Linked DNA regions of Homo sapiens: region 1 is linked to region 2. Evidence: promoter capture Hi-C in 16 types of primary human blood cells and fetal thymus (Javierre and others, 2016). All regions are on one chromosome and are shown on one strand. Each heading gives the region's core, a stretch centred on a gene start or on the middle of the fragment in contact. The rest is flanking DNA. Distances are from core to core; before and after follow the strand shown.

Region 1 (3,754 bases), core at 175-2,674, 190 kb before region 2:
GGACTTAGGCCCTTGTTAATGGGACTAAGGATTCATTTGGGGGCCCTGGCAGGCTTATCTAGAACCTTTACCCACAAGAAGTTCCCCACAGGCTGGGCAGTACTCACCACAGTATGTGCAATTTTTGGCTTCCAGATTGTTTGTGCCAAGCTTTGGCAGGTGGTACAATATTGGCTGCCCCAGATTCTTGTCTGCTTTAGCTGTTTCTGAACCATGTCCAGGGTTGAGAAGGGAACATACTGTGATGGTGTCAGCACTCTGCAGGAAGGTGAAAAAAGGTGAGAGATATGTTAAAGAGAAGCTGAGACATTGTAAGAGGCCAAGCCCAGGTGATGCTGTGGAGGAGTTCTCTTTCTTCACCACCCCTATCTACTTCCCAATCGCTGCTGTGGCCTATGGACTCGGCTCACTCTACAGCAGCCACGACGCAAGTCTTGCTGTTCCTCTAACACCCCAGGCTCATTCCCACCTCAGGACCTTTGCACTTACTGTTTCCCTAATCTTCAGCCTGACTTGCTACCTCGTGTATTCAACTATTTGGTCAAATGCCATCTACCCAAGAAAACCTTCCCTGACCAGCCCATCTAAAATGCCCCTCTCTGGTCATTAACTCTGCTTTATTTGTCTAAATGGCATTTCTATCCAAAACCACAGTATGTGTTTATTCATTTGTTCACTTTTTGTCTGTTCCTCCAATATGGCAGAAAGTTTGTCTTATTCACTGATGTATCTCTGATACCTAGAATAGAGCCTGGCTCATAAATGATTGGGTCCAAATCCTGACTCAACTAACTGTGGCATCTTGGACAACTTCTTTTTTTTTTCACTGCAATTTCCTCAACTGAAAAAAAATGCGAATAATAATTATATCTACCTCAATGGTTATCTGAATCAATGTGAAACCTTAGGTCAATGTCTGGCCCACAGGGAATAGTTAGTATTAACTAATAATATTATTATAATTATTACACCCTCAGGAAGAAGCTCACATGTGTATCCTGAGGAGGCGGGGAGGGGGATGAGCAGTATTCCTAGCAGCTTGCAGGAGCAGAGAGTCTTTTTTGCTTCTCCAGGAACCAAGTCCTGTTCTCCCGTCTTGCCTGCTCTCTGCTGCCCTCTGGAGGTCTGCAGTGGAGTCAGGCAGGGAGCTGATTCAGGGACGCCACAGATTATGTATCCTCCACTTCCTATGGGATAGCTGCTATCATTCCCATTTTACAGATGAGGAAACCACTTCTCACAGTTGTAAGTAACTTGCCCAAAGTCATGTGATCTCCTGCTCTTAATCACATGATGAAGAATGAGACATTGCTGGATGACAGTCTCTCTACTTAAGCAAGCTAGAGCCCACGGAGGCATCTTGGGCCTTGGCAGAGCTGCCACTGGAGCCATCATTTGGCACACACTATTGGGAATCATTGAGGCCACAGAGGAAATGTGGGTACCTAGGAACTCGTTCTTCAGACAGATCCCCAAATGGACCCAGAAACAGCATGCAGCCAAGCAAGGGCTGGCCCCTTCCTTCCCCTCTCCCCAGGCTGTACTTCCTTAGCCAAAGGACAGTTCTCTGATCACCTCAGCCAACCTGAGCTACCCTGGAAAGCTACTTCTCACCCTGTGCCCCTGTGCCTCTCTCTCAGAGCGTATGTCACTGGCTGGGCCAAATGATCTTCATGTCAACCTAAAATAAGAGGGCTATGGAAAGACATAGCCTCTAGAGACATCTGGGAGCTGATTAACTAATAAGAACCTGGAGACACCAGCACTGTCTGATCAAAAGATACAATGGAGGAAAAGATTTCATTTTCAATAAAAACAAAAACCCTAAAACATCTAGAAATAAACTCGCCTAGAAATGCATGTTTTATATGAGGACACGTGGCAAAACTTTGCTAAGAAACACATAATAAGACATCATATTTCTGGATGGGAAAACTGAATAGGGCAAATATGCTTAAGTTCAGACATTTATATATATTTTAAATACAATTCCAAGGGCATTTTGAATGAAAATGACCAAAAAATCATGGCTAAAGTATGAGCTTAGAATGTACTGAGTTTTTACTATGTGCTAGGCTCAGGGCTGACAGCTTTACATACCTTACCTCAATTAATCCTCACAGCAACCTCAAGAGGTCATTTCATTTATTTATTTATTTATTGTGGAGACAGCATTCTCACTCTGTCACCTAGGCTAGAGTGCAGTGGCACTATCACAGCTCACTACAGCCTTGACCTCCCAGGCTCAAGCGATTCTCCTGCCTCAGCCTCCCAAATATCTGGGACTATAGGCAGGTGCCACACCATACCAGGCTACTTTTTAATTTTTTGTAGAGATGAGGTCTCAATATGTTGCCCAGGCTGGTCTTGAACTCCTGGGCTCAAGCAATCCTCCCACCTCAGCCTCCCAAAGTGCTGGGATTACAGGAGTAAGCCACCACGCCTGGCTGAGGTCATTATTAATATTTATGAAAGACAGGTTGGGGAAGTGATTAAGAGCAGGAGATCACATGACTTTGGGCAAGTTACAACTGTGAGAAGTGGTTTCCTCATCTGTAAAATGGGAATGATAGCAGCTATCCCATAGGTTTATGATGAGTATTAAATGAGGTAACATACATGAAACATTGAGAGCAGTGCTTGGCAAGTAGAAGCACTGATATGAACTACTATTATCCTCATTTACAGACGAAAAAACTAAAGCTTAGAGAGGATAACATAATTTGCCCAAGTTCACACAGCTGATAACTGGCTGCCCTGGCCTGGGGGATGGGAATAGGGAGTCTTGCCTACAAGATCTGAAAAATTATAAAATCATAATAGTTAAAACAGGAAGCACATCTTGTATAAGATATTTTTATATGCCTTGCAAGATTATGTTCTGAAATATTAGCCAATGCCTTCTCCAGCCTGATACTCCCCTTACCTCTCTCCCTTCCCTGCCTCAAATAGCCAGGCCATTCTATGCTCATTGCTGCAGGGAAGGTGTGTGAAAACAGAAAGAAGAGGTAAGGAGCCTCTTTCCTTAGGGGAATAGAAGAGACTTCTGGCCTAGACCTAGACCAAAGTGTGGGAGAAAATGGTCATGAGAAAGATCAAGGCATTCCCTGCCCCTCACTCATATCCAAGAATAATTCCCCAGGGCAAGGACAAAGGCTGGAGGGAAGTTGAGAAACATTGACTTTGCTAGGTCCTGGAGGCTGAGGTCCCAATCCCCGCTCCCTGGACTGAGCCCCACAGAGAAAGCAGCATCCCTCACAATCTGTGGATCTGAGAGCAGGGAACAGAACAGCTGCTGGGTGTATCTAGGCCAAGAGGACCCCAGGCAAGCTCCCTGAGTGAGGCTGCTTGAAGAGGTGGAGAGAGACTTTGACCTCCACAATAACCTGCAGGCACCAACGACCCAGGACCAGATGGGACAAGGATAGATGACATGAAGGGCAGGACCCTTTGTAGGTCACTGAGAGTCTAGAACCCTGCACTCCACCCCACCCCAAACCCAAAATGGAAACTGCAAAGGAAACTCAGAACTGACTGGGATTAAGGGTCAGCACCTTTTTAAAGAGCGGGGCTCAAGTACAGATGAAGGAGAATTTTATAAACAAACTAATTTTTTTACACACTTGAGTTTATGGGCCGAAACTGGTATTCTAAAGGATAAAGTTTTAAGAAAATAGTGTTAGGGAAATGCACTGTTTAAAAAATCCATTTAGAAGAGAAGCTTGGGCAGCGGACAAAGGCAGCAACTTAAATC
Region 2 (3,341 bases), core at 418-2,917:
GCACCCAGGGTAGAGGCTGTCACCATTCCCCACTTTGGTACCTCTTTGCATGGTGGGTGGGAAAATAGTAAATACTGTAAATACTTTGTGTTGCCTCTGTGGTAGAACCTTGATATAAAGATCTACAAATGGACAGGGCAGAGGCCACTAATTCCTTGACCTTGAGGTGAGCCTCTCCCCAGCGACCAAAATGTGAGGACAGTTAATACCTTACTTGATACACCGTGAAAGGGACGAAAAGTGACCACAGCAGTTCTGAGACCCAGGAGGCATCTGACACCGTCTGAGGGGAGGGCATGAGATGAGGCCTAAGCCAGGGCCAGGGATGGGAAATTTCCCCTTCAAGCCCCAGAGATTCCCTGTTCAACACACACTCACCACAGAGACCAGGGGTCTCTGAACTTGCAGGGTAAGAGGTTGTACCACATCTTGGATAGAAAATGGCCAGGAACTAGAAGAGGAAGGAGAAAGTAGGATGGGAATCCAGCCAGCCTAGTCAGCAGCTCACACCTGCCTTATAACAGGCAACTGTCAAACTCTACAAGCACATAATTGAAGAATGAAGGGATTCAGGAGAAAGAACTTAAAGTGGACAGAAAGGAAATGAACTGGAGATGATGGGGTCTAAGGGCCGAAGAAAGTTGTAAAAACTCAAGGGCCCACAAGCTTGACCACCTACCCAGCTGGCGCCCCATACCTGTGCTAAACCCACCTGAAGCGCAGGAGCCCCTCCCGGCCATTGGTGGCCTCTTCCTCAGGGAATAGCAGCAGAGGAGTGGGGGGAAGCCTCGTGGAAGCACAGAATCTCTTGAGTGACTCCACCAACTCCCCCCGCCCATTCATCTCCATGAAGCCCCGAGACCAGCACACAAAGCTGGGGGGACTATTGAGTAGAGGCTGGGAACCAGGAGAAGAGAAAGCAAGAAGAAAAATATTGAGGAAAATGAAAAAAAAAACTGACATGTTGGGTAGAGGATCGGGGTTAGGGGTAAGGCTCAGTATCCTCCATGGGGAACGCGAGTGGGGACAGGGGGGCCTTCAGCTGGGCCCCAGGGAACCGCCCCGTGGCGCTCTCGGCCTCGCTCTCACTCACGGTGCTACAGGTGGTAAGCAAATTGACTATGTTGTGGTCGAAAGGTGTCACATGGTTGGAAATGAGGACCCTGACACTGTGATCCCGGAGTCCGGAGTCCTCCTGCCGGGCCACGAGCCCTAGCACCGCACACATGGTCCGCACTACGAATCTGGGGACACAGGAGGTGGTGACTGTGTGGCCTCGGGCCAGACCCAGCTCTGACACTCCCCGAACGCCCGCGTCGGAACCTGCGAAGGACGCTGTCTGGCAGCGCGCAGCTGACCAGGAAGACGTGGATCCCGAGAAAGAGGCGCAGGACGAGGAGGCAGAACCCGACTGGCGCGTAGAGCAGCAGCACGAGCAGTAGGAAGCAGTCACCCGGAAGCCTGGGGGCGAGAGGCGAAGTGGTCAGGCGCCGAAGGCCGAGAGCACGCGGGGATCGGTCTCTTCCCGCCGGGTCTCTTACCGGTGCGAGTCAAAGAGCCGCTCCGGCCCCGGCCCTGAGGGAAGCTCCATAACTGCTGCTTCAGGAGCGCCCGGCCGTCGCCGCCGCCGCCATTTTCGCGCCCGGCCGCAGGGGCTCTTGGGAAGGCGGAGTCTTTGGGCATCCGCCCGGGGTGAGGGGACCCGAAGTCCTGAGGCGCGCCGGAAGGGCTAGCGGTCCCAGCATACCCCGCGGCCCCTTGGGCCGTCTCACAACTCGCGTCCGGCGGAGACCACAATTCCCGGCATTCGTGGGGCAGGGAGGAGTCGGCCTCCCGGAATCCTGGTCCCGGCGTGCACTTCTGAAGGACTTCAGGTACCGGCGTGCCCCGCGTCCTACTGTCCGCCTGCTCGCGTCCTGGGTGCCGCCTCTGAGTAGGGCGGGCGAGGAGGCAGCCAAGGCGGAGCTGATGGCTGCGCCGAGGGCGGGGCGGGGTGCAGGCTGGAGCCTTCGGGCATGGCGGGCTTTGGGGGGCATTCGCTGGGGGAGGAGACCCCGTTTGACCCCTGACCTCCGGGCCCTGCTGACGTCAGGAACTTCTGACCCCCGGGCCCGAGTGACTTATGGGACCCCCAGTCTCTGGGCCCGGTTGTCTGTTGGGGTCACTGAACCCCGAGCATGCCTGACGTCTGGGACCCCGGGTCCCCGGGCACAACTGACTGCGGTGACCCCAGATACCAGGACCCGGGAGGCCTCAGAGAACTCTGGAACCCGTTCGCGCGCGTGGCTGGCGGTGGCGCTGGGCGCTGGGGGGGCAGTGCTGTTGTTGTTGTGGGGCGGGGGTCGGGGTCCTCCGGCCGTCCTCGCCGCCGTCCCTAGCCCGCCGCCCGCTTCTCCCCGGAGTCAGTACAACTTCATCGCAGATGTGGTGGAGAAGACAGCACCTGCCGTGGTCTATATCGAGATCCTGGACCGGTAATGGTGGGGGTAGACCGGGAGGCACTGAAGCCACAGGCTGGAGGGCGGGCGGGTAGGAGGGGTCAGAGCCTCCTCTTATCTGTGCTTTCCCTCCATTTCAGGCACCCTTTCTTGGGCCGCGAGGTCCCTATCTCGAACGGCTCAGGATTCGTGGTGGCTGCCGATGGGCTCATTGTCACCAACGCCCATGTGGTGGCTGATCGGCGCAGAGTCCGTGTGAGACTGCTAAGCGGCGACACGTATGAGGCCGTGGTCACAGCTGTGGATCCCGTGGCAGACATCGCAACGCTGAGGATTCAGACTAAGGTGGGGGCTGGGGTAGGCCAGGTCTGGTTGGAGCTGCTTATTTGCTCGCATCTTCAGATGACAGGTCTCTTTTACCCATTCTCCCTTAGGAGCCTCTCCCCACGCTGCCTCTGGGACGCTCAGCTGATGTCCGGCAAGGGGAGTTTGTTGTTGCCATGGGAAGTCCCTTTGCACTGCAGAACACGATCACATCCGGCATTGTTAGCTCTGCTCAGCGTCCAGCCAGAGACCTGGGACTCCCCCAAACCAATGTGGAATACATTCAAACTGATGCAGCTATTGATGTGCGTCCTGATAGGAGAGAAATGACAAATGATGGGGGAGGGGGGAGAGGCTGTGTGGTACAAGCACCAACTGATATATGGTGGATGAGCCTATATAGAGCTTAGGCTGCAAAAATGTGGCCACTTATTCATGGGCTGAGAAAGAAGAGAATTTGGAGAAAGTACCTACATCCTGGTATGCCCCCAGACTTAGAATCCCCAGATCTCTTTCATGTTTTCTCCTTGTCCTACAGTTTGGAAACTCTGGAGGTCCCCTGGTTAACCTGGTGAGTGA

Evidence for each region. The method cuts DNA at HindIII sites, captures the fragments that hold promoters and counts their contacts. A CHiCAGO score of 5 or more calls a contact.
Region 1: a fragment that was not itself captured here is called in contact with the fragment with the promoter of AUP1 in region 2 in 1 of 17 cell types (M2 macrophages); the score reaches 5.7 in M2 macrophages.

The regions. Positions count from the first base shown.
Region 1 is chr2:74,333,920-74,337,673 of GRCh38, forward strand. It overlaps SLC4A5 (solute carrier family 4 member 5), which reads right to left. Exons shown (of 31, transcript NM_133478.3): 4 at 108-258. Among named protein-coding and RNA genes, the nearest start is that of SLC4A5, 7.6 kb to the right of the region's middle. RefSeq lists an enhancer at 1,028-1,217. The HindIII fragment of the contact is 2,553 bases long and covers 149-2,701 here.
Region 2 is chr2:74,528,039-74,531,379 of GRCh38, forward strand. It overlaps AUP1 (AUP1 lipid droplet regulating VLDL assembly factor), which reads right to left and starts at 1,668. Exons shown (of 12, transcript NM_181575.5): 1 at 1,542-1,668; 2 at 1,324-1,461; 3 at 1,094-1,244; 4 at 713-897; 5 at 379-451; 6 at 210-283. The coding sequence starts at 1,591. HTRA2 (HtrA serine peptidase 2) reads left to right here and starts at 1,895. Exons shown (of 8, transcript NM_013247.5): 1 at 1,895-2,474; 2 at 2,579-2,783; 3 at 2,873-3,067; 4 at 3,301-3,333. The coding sequence starts at 1,969. RefSeq lists enhancers at 1,112-1,941, 1,114-1,996, 2,452-2,581, 2,602-2,671, 2,702-2,781 and 1 more and a silencer at 1,972-2,061. The HindIII fragment of the contact is 3,652 bases long and covers 665-3,341 here.